2 separate regions of the Homo sapiens genome follow, and region 1 is linked to region 2. Evidence: promoter capture Hi-C in 16 types of primary human blood cells and fetal thymus (Javierre and others, 2016). All regions are on one chromosome and are shown on one strand. The core of a region is centred on a gene start or on the middle of the fragment in contact, and the rest is flanking DNA. Distances in the headings are between cores, read along the strand shown.

Evidence for each region. Contacts are between HindIII fragments. The CHiCAGO score rates a contact against its expected background, and 5 or more counts as called.
Region 1: a fragment that was not itself captured here is called in contact with the fragment with the promoter of ENPP4 in region 2 in 1 of 17 cell types (fetal thymus); the score reaches 5.7 in fetal thymus.

What each region holds. Positions count from the first base shown.
Region 1 is chr6:47,306,726-47,312,874 of GRCh38, forward strand. It overlaps TNFRSF21 (TNF receptor superfamily member 21), which reads right to left and starts at 3,180. Exons shown (of 6, transcript NM_014452.5): 1 at 2,691-3,180. The coding sequence starts at 2,786. RefSeq lists enhancers at 2,131-2,853, 3,017-3,196, 3,148-3,442 and a silencer at 2,647-2,876. The HindIII fragment of the contact is 3,170 bases long and covers 1-3,122 here.
Region 2 is chr6:46,126,387-46,132,262 of GRCh38, forward strand. It overlaps ENPP4 (ectonucleotide pyrophosphatase/phosphodiesterase 4), which reads left to right and starts at 3,603. Exons shown (of 4, transcript NM_014936.5): 1 at 3,603-3,803. It also overlaps a transcript of CLIC5 not described here. The HindIII fragment of the contact is 7,807 bases long and covers 3,217-5,876 here.

The DNA.
Region 1 (6,149 bases), core at 288-2,787, 1.2 Mb after region 2:
AAAAGTCATAACACAAAAATGATGACAATAAATATTATCACACAAAAAGGGAGATATTTGAAAGAAGAGCATTAAAAGACATAATAAATAGAACATTTTACTGGGATTATTACTTTTTAATCTAACTGTAATACGTGGGCAGGCCACTAACTTGCCCACCTCCCCCAGTAGTGTTCTGAGTACCCTGCCACGTGTACCCAGGCTCCAGTACCTGATGTCCGTTATGTTCACATGGCCAAGGATCCCAATGGGATAAATACTTCTTGGAACAGTATCATGAGATCATCATTTTATACATTAACAAAGCCTGTGCTGTGGACTTGGGCATGCAGAATAAGAATGTGAAAGACAAAAGGCATTTCCTCCCCACCCTGGATGGGGATTATAACATAGTCTCTACTGATTCCTGGCACACCCTCCAGTCACCCTTCAGGATGAAGGGCTGAACCTCATGCCATTTCATGAATTTACCTGAAGTCTTTTTAGCATAGCTAGCAGAAGAATAAGGAATCCTGTATTGGTTATCAACTTGAGACTGCTCCTAAGCCCCATTATAAATTTTATCTTTTTCAAAGTAGCCAAACTTAAATTGTCAGGTCTTTAGTTGCAAATCCAGTGCACAATTTTTAGGGTAGGTTGAGTTTGATGACTTATTTTTTATTTTGGTTTTGGAGACAGGGTCTCACTCTGTCACTCAAGCTGGAGTGCCGTGGCATGGTCACAGCTCACTGCAGCCTCAACATCCTGGGCTCAAGCCATCCTCCCACCTCAGCCTCCTGAGTTGCTGGGCATACAGGCGCACACCACCGCCACACCCACCTAATTTCTTGTAGAGATGGGGTCTCACTATGTTGCCCAGGCAAATCTCGAACTCCTGGACTCAAGCAATCCTCCCACCCTGGCCGCCCAAAACGCTGGGATTACAGGCATAAGCCAGGGTGCCTAGCCTGATGATTCAAGAAAAGGAGCTGGGCCCTTTCTCAGTTAGTTAAGGCAACCTACCATTTGATTACATCAAGACCTTTGTTTAATTACCTACCTCATGCTAAAAGGTAAAATAAATGGAGTATTGCACAATGACTTAAGATTTAATCTGGGAATGGACTCTGTGAGGCATATAATAATCAGATGTGTTAGAAGCACCTGAAACATAGTAGTGGATAGTAGTGGATCTAAAGCTGTGAAAAAGGAAATGATGATAGTTCTCACTCCACTGAACTAGGATCAGTGTTCCCATGGACCTAGATGTGTTTCTCTCCACACCAAGACTGTCAATCCAGGTTCATTGTCCCAAGAGACTCCCCGACTACTGCTTACCATCCACCACACTTGTTTCACTTGTTTCAAAGATATAAACCTTGGCCATGCCATTAATAAGTGGGCAGAAAAGAGTTTCTGAAGGGAGACTGGGACTTGCCTCATTATAAATGCTAACAGTAACAAACTTTTATTTAGTCTCTCTCTTCCTCTTAAAACACACACACAAGGAACCAGAGTGTCTGTAGGATGAATTCCCAGGCCATAGCAACTGCAATGTCCTGAGATCTAAGCAGTTCTTGGCTGGCCAGGCGTTAAGCCCTTTTGGGGAAGGAGACAGCAAGCCTGCTTTTCCCTTACACAGCCCTGTCGTGAAAACAAGCTCTTGTTTCTTGGGGGTTTTTTTGTTCGGTTTTTAGCTAAGAATTTCCATCCCTCCTGCAGTGATAAAAGATAGGCAAGGGAAGCTCAAGGGTTTGATCTCAAATTTTCTTCCACCTAACTTGCCCCTTCACCCCAATATTTGGAAATAAAGGGAGGGAATTTGGGGGAAGTTGAGGGTAAGTTTTTGGTCAAGATGATTGACCCGAGATGTGGATGCAGCTTAGACGATGAGGGAGACTGCACCACCCTGCAGGGTCACCTGCCTAGCCACAGGTAAACGAGGGATCGGAAAGACTGTAGAAAATTCATCTTCCTTCACACACATCTCCTTCCCCCTCCCCCCATTCCAGTGCCGGCGCGCTGGCTGGCTGGAAGCCGGCGCTTTGGAGGCGCCGGAGAGTGGGTCTAAGGGTGATATTTCGGCATACAGAACCTGAGACCCCACCCGAGCCAAGAGGGAAGAGAGAGGGTAAAGGGATTGAGGAGGGGGCGGCTTGCGCCCTGCTCGGGAATGCACCGCGCGACAGCACCCGGAGGTCTCCGGTGTCCGGCGCGCACCGGTACCACTGTCTTCCACTGCGGTAGCATCCCGACATGACATTGCAGCTGCAACAAAGCGCCGGCCTCGGCCGGCCGTGGGAGCCCCACACCGCGGCGAGGCCCCACACCACGCAGAGGGGCAGTGGCCGATGGGTGGGGGGCTGTGGCTGCGGGCGTGGGGAGCGCGAGGTAGGCCGAGTAGGGGGAAAAGCCCTCAAATGCGCAGAAGCTGGGCGGCTACCTCTAGCGTCTCCTCCAGCAAAGCCAGACTGCAAGGAAAACAATTCGTCTTCATTCCCCAGCCCCGGCTGAGCCCTGAGATTCCCCCAAATAACCTAGTCGAGGCCCTCTGGTGTGTTGCCTTCCCTTGGAAACCCCTCAGTGCCCGTAACCCAGTCGGCCGGGCCCCGCGCCTCCCTAAGCCCCGGCCCGGTGACCCGCCCGGCTCCCGGAGAGCGGTTCCTTCTGCTCCGGCGCCGCCGCCACCCCCGGTCCACGCAAGCGCTCACCAGGAGAAGGGAGCCCGCGATCATCGTGGCTGTGGCTCGGCGGGCGATGCGGCTGCAGGAGGCGAGGGCGGTGCTGCTGCTCGGAGAGGTCCCCATGGCTGAACCGGGGACTCGCAGGGGCGCCCGGGGCGCGCGGGGCAGCTGGAATCGGCGGCTGCTTCTGCCCAGCGCCGCATCCACCGCCGCCTCCCGGGCCGGGAGCCCATCTACCTCCAACACCCCATGTGCACTGCTGCGGCCGGGCAGAGGAGGGAGGCGGCAAGGGAGGCTCTAGGGGCGCTCAGCACCTGCCCAGCGGCGCGGCCGCCCAGGCGGGGAGAAGCCGCCGCGACTGCAGCCCGCGTCTCCGGGTGCTCTCCTCCGACAGCGGCTGAGGAGAACCAGGGAGGAGGACTGGGCGCGAGAGAGCAAAGGAACGACTTCCCATAGCGAAGCTTCCAGCCACTGCCAACCACCCTCCTCCGCTGCCCAGACTGGTCGGCGAGGGACTGAGTCGGTGGCCACCGGGCGCAGGGACACACGTGGTGGCGCCGAAGGGGCGGGGGACCGGCCCTTTGTGATGTCACCCGGGAGGAGGCCGGGCTCTTTGTGCGGTTGGAAAGGCGAAGGCGTTCCAGGTAGAGCGGGGAGGGAGAGGGTGCCCCTTGGCGTTCGCTGAGGAAATTGCACGCGCCTGTTGACCCAGGGAAAGCGCTGAGAAAGCATCTCACTCCTGATCTAACTTTACTTATTTTTTCCGAGATAATTCCAACTAAATTATTTCAGCTACATACGCCTTTCCATTGTTTCGGACACGATGATTAAATCAGAGAGCGATGGTGAATAGACCACAGAGCACTTAGATCAACTGCGTGACGAAAAAGGAGACCTGTGTGTTGCTTCTCAAACTTTGCTGCCCTGTGGAATCACCTGGAGAGTTCAAAACATATATATTGATTCTTGGGTCCCACCTCTAGAGACTCTGATTTAATTGGAACAGGACAGGATCTGGTCTGGGCATTGAGGTTTGTTGTTGTTGTTGTTTGTTTGTTTTTTAAGTTTTCAGGGTGATTTTAATATGGGGCAAAGATTTTAATTTTTTATATTTTAATTTTAATATGGGCTTATGAATGCAATTAAGGAAATCCAAACTAAAAGGATTTAAAACCCAGAGTCATTGGTGTTGGGTCCATGGATGGTCTTGGAGGGACTTTTGAACTCCTTGAAATGTATCAAAAGATGCATTTTCCTAATTTAAAAATCAAGAGTTTTGAATCGGATTATCCCTGAGATTTTTTTTAATCACCCTTCCCCCAAAAAATAATGCTAAAAATTTTTGAGTTGATTTCCAAAGGCCTTGTCAGGATGTGGGTGGTAGAATAGGTAGTATTCTGCTTCAGAAGGAGAACTGGAATATTCTCGTGGATGTTGGTATCTCACACACTTCTGAATGTAAGAGAGCAGCTGTTATCCTTTTCTTTGTTTCACCTGGGGGAAGGCCGAGTCTCCTGACTGTGGCCACCATTTCTGGTATCGTGTTATCCATCATCTAGGTACTGACAGCACATGGCACACTGTATTGATATTACCTCTTCAGCCATCCAGTCCACACCCCTCAATTGGGAGCCCTATGGTGCTGGGCTTATCCTAGGCTCCTTTGGTCCCATTTCAAAAGAATCACACTTTTTAAACTATCAGTTTCAAGATCCAACACCCAGTGCTAATAAAGGTAACTTGCTAAGTCATAGGTACCAATTATTTGCTTTATTAGTTAACATGTTGTCCTTTGATTCTTTGCTCTATGCACACTTTGGTAGAAGCTAAAATTAATATGAGGGTTAATTCCAATCTATTATTTCAAACATTTGTCAGTATTGTCTATAAATGTTAGAGTGGGAAAAAAGCTACAATATATAACCTCTAGTGAAATTCAAAGGAGTTCTAGAAAATATTACCATTAATTATGGAGTTTTGGGGAAAGGATGATGGTTGGACTTGCCACTCTCTAGCTATTTTCAGAAGTTGAAAGAGTGAGGGATAGATGCTGTGTTTTCATGCATAACTGTATCAATTTTTTCTTCAAAAATTCAAATGACTGGCCAATACTATTATAAGGTTGGGTTGTTTTTTTTTAAGAAGTTACATAGGTATTAAAGAGGAGGAGGAGCTTCAAATACGTTTTTATTTAGTCCATTTTACTCCTTGCATCCAAACTCACATTTTTCGTGGTAATATATGATTGATTTGCTCTAAAGAGTTGGGCAACTTTAGAGTTTAGTGTCTGGGTTACTATGCAGGTATAAGAAGTTCTTCTCAACTATTTGTCTTCCTAAAACTAAAAGAAAATTGTTTATTTGTGCTTGGACCACTTTGAAACTTCATGAATTCCTGGTGTTCCATTGATCATATCAAGTTGAAATTTAATATACATTTTGAGAGATGAAAAAATTTACTCAATTCTGTTTACTACTAACATTTAAATACATGTCCCTCTATAGAGTGATAGATTATAGATAATTTGAATCTAGATGCAGTGTGAAATTTTATTACTTTGAATTGAAATGTATACATGCCTTCCATTTTGAAGTAACAATGCTGCAACCATTAAATAATTCATTGCCACATTTTCAATGTGGTAACTTAGACATGTCTGTTTTCTGGGAAAGGATAAAAATTCAATGATACATAAGGAAGTTTCTCCCAAAGTTCCAAGGAAAGAGGAGATATGTGTTGATAAATCATAATTATAGCTAAATTTTAAAGGAAGGCCTAAATGAGTTAATCCAATGTCATCTTTGCCATAAAAATTACTCTATCTCCACCCTCCATCCTACCTTTGGACTTTCTCTCTTTCTGCCAATGTTGTACAATTTTTCTAGTTTTCCAACCTCAAAAATCATTGCTAATTCTTTCCTCGTCCTTAGTACATTCCAATTAATGCTTTCCTAACCTTTCATTTTTTTCTATTTTATCTTTCTTGTTAAAAATCTGATATATACATCTGGATACTGAAGAAATCACCAGAGATTGCGCCACTGCAGTCCGCAGTCCGACCTGGGCGACAGAGCGAGACTCCGTCTCAAAAAAAAAAAAAAAAAAAAAAAAAGAAATCACCAGATTTACCATCTTGTCTTAATTATTTTTTTAACTTATCCTGCACACTTTCAGAAGGTCTAGTAAAATTTCATGTTCTTTATAATGAAAATAACAATTGTCCACATTTTGAGAAATGACTGCTGCATGACAAACATCCTGAGCCGATCTATGAGGGAATGACAGAAAGTTGGCAGGAAAATGCCAGCTCCGTTGGGGAGACCCTAACCCAGTGGCGCTAGAGGAATTAAAGACACACACACAGAAATATAGAGGTGTGAAGTGGGAAATCAGGGGTCTCACAGCTTTCAGAGCTGAGAGCCCCGAACAGGGATTTACCCACATATTTATTAACAGCAAACCAGTCATTAGCATTGTTTCTATAGA
Region 2 (5,876 bases), core at 2,353-4,852:
CTCAAAAGAATTTATACTGATTCTTTCACAGCTTTATTAAATATTTGAAAAAATTCCTTTAGAGTGAAGGTCTAACACAATAGTTCATGGTGGTTAATACAGAATCATTTTTTAAAGGAGCACTTAAAAATATTTTACAATCTTAACTTGATTGAGATTATTCCAATATAATCTTACTGAAAATGGAGTAGGTGAAAAGTTTTCACCAAAGGAACTTTCAAAATCACTAAAATGCAATGATTCATAAGGTCCTTTTCCCCTGTTATATTTAAGATAAAATCTGTATTACTTAAACATCTAATTTATATTAAAAAGTGAACCTTAAATACTCTCCTTGACATTCAATTATTTAGTTTCAGTTGTGTTGTTGTTTAATTAGAACTGAGCAGTGGACAGGAATTGTTTTTCTTTGGGAAGCGTGTGGCTTTTGCTCTGAAACCTTCTTCCTGTAACTTCTAACTTCTGACCTTCTCCTGGCCAGCAATGAGTTATACATCACAATTAGGAGTATAAAAGAGAAATAATTGTATAGAGAGCTATGTCTTAAATTTTGAAAACAGGATAAGATTTTTAAAATATTTTGTGTTAATGAATAAATGTTCAGTCTTGAGCGTAGTTCATGGGAGAAAAAGAAACTGCCTTTGACATGCTGCTTCCAAATCTGACATTGCCCCATAGAGGCAAATGCTCTAGTTGTACTTAGTTTTTGTGTATTGATAAATAATATTTCTATACATTTATAGGGCAGATGTGATATTTTGTTACATGCATTGAACGTGTAACAATCCAGTCAGGGTATTTAGGGTATCCATTACCTCGAGTATTTATCATTTCTATGTGATGGGAACATTTCAAGTCCTGTCTTCTAGCTATTTTGAAATATAAAATACATTTAACTATAGTCACCCTACTCTCCTATCAAACATTAGAATATATTTCTTCTATCTAACTGTATGTTTGCTCAGTCATTTCTCTGTGGGGTATATTCATTTGTAAATAATAAGTTTAGACTATTGCCTCTAATTCATTTCAATCTCTAACATAAAATGGGTTTAAAGGCTCTCTATATTTCCAAAATTTATATAAAATTCCCTTTGCAAAAGCTGAGCTGAAAGAACATTATAAATGAATATTATTTTGCCTACCTAAATAAAACAACACTTATGCCTAAAAATCACATTGTAAATAAGAAATTTATGTTACTATTATGTTTTCTTTTATTATCATTAAAGTTCTACAATGAAACTATAGTGAACTTTGTGGCCGGCTTCCCAGCACCCATTCCAACTCATTTCCATTGAGAAAAAAAGTAAAGTTTGGGTGAGACCTCAGTTTAAGATGTGGACTGCATTGGTCTACAGGTAACCATATCCTTTGCTGGCTTAGATTTGGATATGTGACACAATTCTGTCCAAAGTGATTAAAGGAGACAGTTGCTGAAGACTTCTAAGAGACAGAAGAAATCTAGACGTCATTTCTATCACCCAGTGGAAGTGAAAAATGAATTACATGGTTCCTGTTGCTGCTGGTAGTTATATTTACCACTAAAGGAACCAGAAGTCTACTCTGTTAAAAGCCAAGTGTAAAGCTGCAAAGAACTGAGTACATTATGAAATCGTTGAGTTGCTAACTCAACCAGTCCTGAAGTCTGCCTTACCTCTGGACTTCTTGTTCCACAAGACGATAAATATCCTTACTATAACAGGATTTTGGTTGTGGTTGAAATGGTAAATATATAGAGGATAACAAAAGTTTAGGGCCAAAGGTCCTTATGTGTCATTTTGTCCCTCTGTTCCTGACCACTTTATCTTACAGAGCAAGAGCCCAGGTGGCATGAGACTCCCTAATTTAACCCAGCCACACAGGCAGTAGCAGTGGATAAAGAGAGTCCTCTCCTGATGCCCATCCAGCTGCTATCTTCACCACACATCTGACCTAGATGGCATTCAGTTTTGTCCACCCTTTAAGCATACATATGCACCTACTGAATGAACAAACAGGATATGCACAATACCCCCAAATGCCACAAAATTTAAGTTCTGCTAATCTTAAATGTTATGTCATTGGACATTACCTAAATTCCCCCAAAACTTGGCCTTACCCTGACTATTGTTCAAATTGGGGTACTTTTTTGGTCATAATGATAATAATCCCCAAAACAACATGTGTCAGATACTGTGCTGAATACTCTACTCGCTTTCCTCATTCATTTGATAGTAAGAGGTTGGTATTGTAACAAGACGCGTTTTGCAGATGAGGAAATGAAAGCTCAAATAGGTTGAGACACTGGCCCATGATTGCTCTGCTGGTGAGTGACAGAGTGAGTATTCAAACCAGGTTCTAGGGTCTGCAGGTTCTAGGGATTCAGCTACAGACCCACTACCATCCCCTCCAGCTCTGAAAGCCCATGGATCTAAGATGCCCATATTCACCAATGCACAGGCCAACCTGAGACTTAAAACTGGAATTAATTTATCAAGGCACAAACTAATAATCAACGGAATACATCTATTGCCAAATCATCTCCATGGCTGCTTCCAGATTGTTGGTAATAGCTATACTGTAAGGTTCAGACCAAGGGGACCAACGTCAGAATTTGTTATCTAAGGTCCAGTACTGCAGTTTACTAATCCAGGTACTGGATTTACAGCTATTAAATACTTAACACTTGAGGATATCACATGTGATTAATATTCTTAATTTATTTGTACTTTTTATTTGAGCTGGAGATACAGTAGTGAACAAGAAAGAAAATACCTTCTGGAGCCTGCATTTTAACAAGCGGGACAATTAAATTCAATAGTGATTTAGCAAGTACTTCTATACCAAGTTCTGTTTGGCACTACAGATAAAAAGAAAAAAGATGCTATCCTCTCACTGCCAAGTGTGCCTGGACAACCCAACTGTTAGCGAATAATTCTACTTCTGTTTGGTAACTGCTCTTTATGTTGGAAAGTTTAGTTACATTATTCTATTAAATAACCTTCCAATTAAAAGCAGGAGCACAATCCCACATACGCGTCTGTCAAAGTAAGCACCCATTTCTCAGCTGTAACTCATTACTGGTTCCCTGCCGCAGGCACTGTGCTGCTTTTAACCTTACTTGTAAACTATTACCTAACTTCCCCGGTAAAGGTGCTCGCTTATCCAGTAAGACGGACAGACGTCTATGGTAGATCCACGTTTCATTTATCCCAACTCACTGGAACTGGCTGAAGCTTCTCCAGACTTGTGCCGGACCTTGGTGCAGCCAAAGTTGCTTTCTCCGCGGCCACCTAAGCTGCCAGGTGCACATTAACTAAGTGGCAGAAGGCCATCGGCTTGGCAATTGCCTGAGGCCTTTCCGGGACTCGCTGGTTTTTAGGTTCCATGAAGGGCATCCAGATCTAGGATGATACGAAAAGTGCGTGGTGGGAGAGTGGAATCAACCTCTACTCTTAGGTCCGATACAACCCCTCCAAGCACCTGTCTAACCAATCGGAAAGAAAGTTACATTCAACGCTGGTTCTAGCATCCAATCCAAGGACGTGTTTCAGACTCTGCTGCCCGGTCCCAGCCAGCCCTGAGCTGGCGCCTTAGACGCTCGCCTGGCAGCTGCGCACACTCGGAGCGCCCCGAGCGGCGCAGATAGGGACGTTGGGGCTGTGCCCCGCGGCGCGGCGCCTGCCACTGCGCAGGCGCCTCAGGAAGAGCTCGGCATCGCCCCTCTTCCTCCAGGTCCCCCTTCCCCGCAACTTCCCACGAGTGCCAGGTGCCGCGAGCGCCGAGTTCCGCGCATTGGAAAGAAGCGACCGCGGCGGCTGGTGAGTACGCGCCTCGCGCGCTCGGCGTTCTGGGGGGCAATGTCACCCCCTCTCCAGTCCCCTAGGGGCTTTGAAAATAGAGATGGTGAGACCAGACCCTATGACCCACTCTCCCCCACTACACGCACATCCCCTGGGGCGCGGCGGGGACGTCCACGAAGGGACTCAAAGAGCCAGGGAGGTGGCGGGCCGAGGCGGAGGCCAGGAAGGGAAGAGGAAAGAAAAATTAGCAGGTGCTGGGGAAGGCAACCTGTGGTGTTAAGTGTGAAGGGAGGGAAGTCAGCCGAACGGTAGTGGAGGAACCTAAGGTGGGTCTGGGGTAAAATTGAGGGGAGCTGGGGCGGGGTCGCCAGGCTTTTGGTTTTAAAGGAGAACCACCCATGGCATCGACATCCGTCTGTCTGAATATTAGATTAGAGTTTATGTTAATTATAGATAATGATATTTAAGAACTAATTTCCTGGAAAACAAGCCAACCAAACAATAAAAGGTACATTTAAGTGCCTTTTTAAAGGGCTGGATTAAAAGCACGTAAGGACTTAAAAACAATGCTTCCTTTTCTTGTCACAACCACCCTATGAGATCATAGCATTCCCATTTTACAGATGACGAAAGTCAGGCTCAGAGAAGTGAAGGGACGCGTCCAACCAAGATTGTACAACTAGTGACAGGCAGATTCAGGTTTACACCAGATCTGACTCCAGAAGGGCTTTGCTTAATCAGGCAATCTTGTGGACCCAAGTCTGAAGGAAGATTTGCCAACTACTGTGAAATATCAACTGCTGGTTTCAGTATTATGAGCTTCTATTTCTTCTTTTTTCCCCTCAGAGATTGTTTCAATCTGTTTTAAGGAAATTAAGAGGCCTGCTGCACTTGTGCGTCTTCCCCCCACCTCCACTTAAATTAGTTACAGGATATAATTTGGAAGACATTTTTTTTTATGGTCTCAGGTCTTAGATTTATTTATTTATTAATTATTATTATTATACCTTAAGTTTTAGGGTACATGTGCACAATGTGCAGGTTAGTTACATATGTATATATGTGCCATGCTGGTGCGCTGCACCCACTAACCCATCATCTAGCATTAGGTATATCTCCCAATGCCATCCCTCCCCCTTCCCCCCACCCCACAACAGTCCCCAGAGTGTGATGTTCCCCTTCCTGTGTCCATGTGTTCTCATTGTTCAATTCCCACCTATGAGTGAGAATATGCAGTGTTTGGTTTTTTGTTCTTGCGATAGTTTACTGAGAATGGATTTCCAATTTCATCCATGTCCCTACAAAGGACATGAACTCATCATTTTTTATGGCTGCATAGTATTCCATGGTGTATATGTGCCACATTTTCTTAATCCAGTCTATCATTGTTGGACATTTGGCTTGGTTCCAAGTCTTTGCTATTGTGAATAATGCTGCAATGAACATATGTGTGCATGTGTCTTTATAGCAGCATGATTTATAGTCCTTTGGGTATATACCCAGTAATGGGATGGCTGGGTCAAATGGTATTTCTAGTTCTAGATCCCTGAGGAATCGCCACACTGACTTCCACAATGGTTGAACTAGTTTACAGTCCCACCAACAGTGTAAAAGTGTTCCTATTTCTCCACATCCTCTCCAGCACCTGTTGTGTCCTGACTTTTTAATGATTGCCATTCTAACTGGTGTGAGATGATATCTCATTGTGGTTTTGATTTGCACTTCTCTGATGGCCAGTGATGGTGAGCATTTTTTCATGTGTTTTTTGGCTGCATAAATGTCTTCTTTTGAGAAGTGTCTGTTCATGTCCTTCGCCCACTTTTTGATGGGGTTGTTTTTTTCTTGTAAATTTGTTTGAATTCATTGTAGATTCTGGATATTAGCCCTTTTTCAGATGAGTAGATTGTGAAAATTTTCTCCCATTTTGTAGGTTGCCTGTTCACTCTGATGGTAGTTTCTTTTGCTGTGCAGAAGCTCTTTAGTTTAATTAGATCCCATTTGTCAATTTTGGCTTTTGTTGCCGTTGCTTTTGGTGTTTTAGACATGAAGTCCTTGCCCATGCCTATGTCCTGAATGGTAATGCCTAGGTTT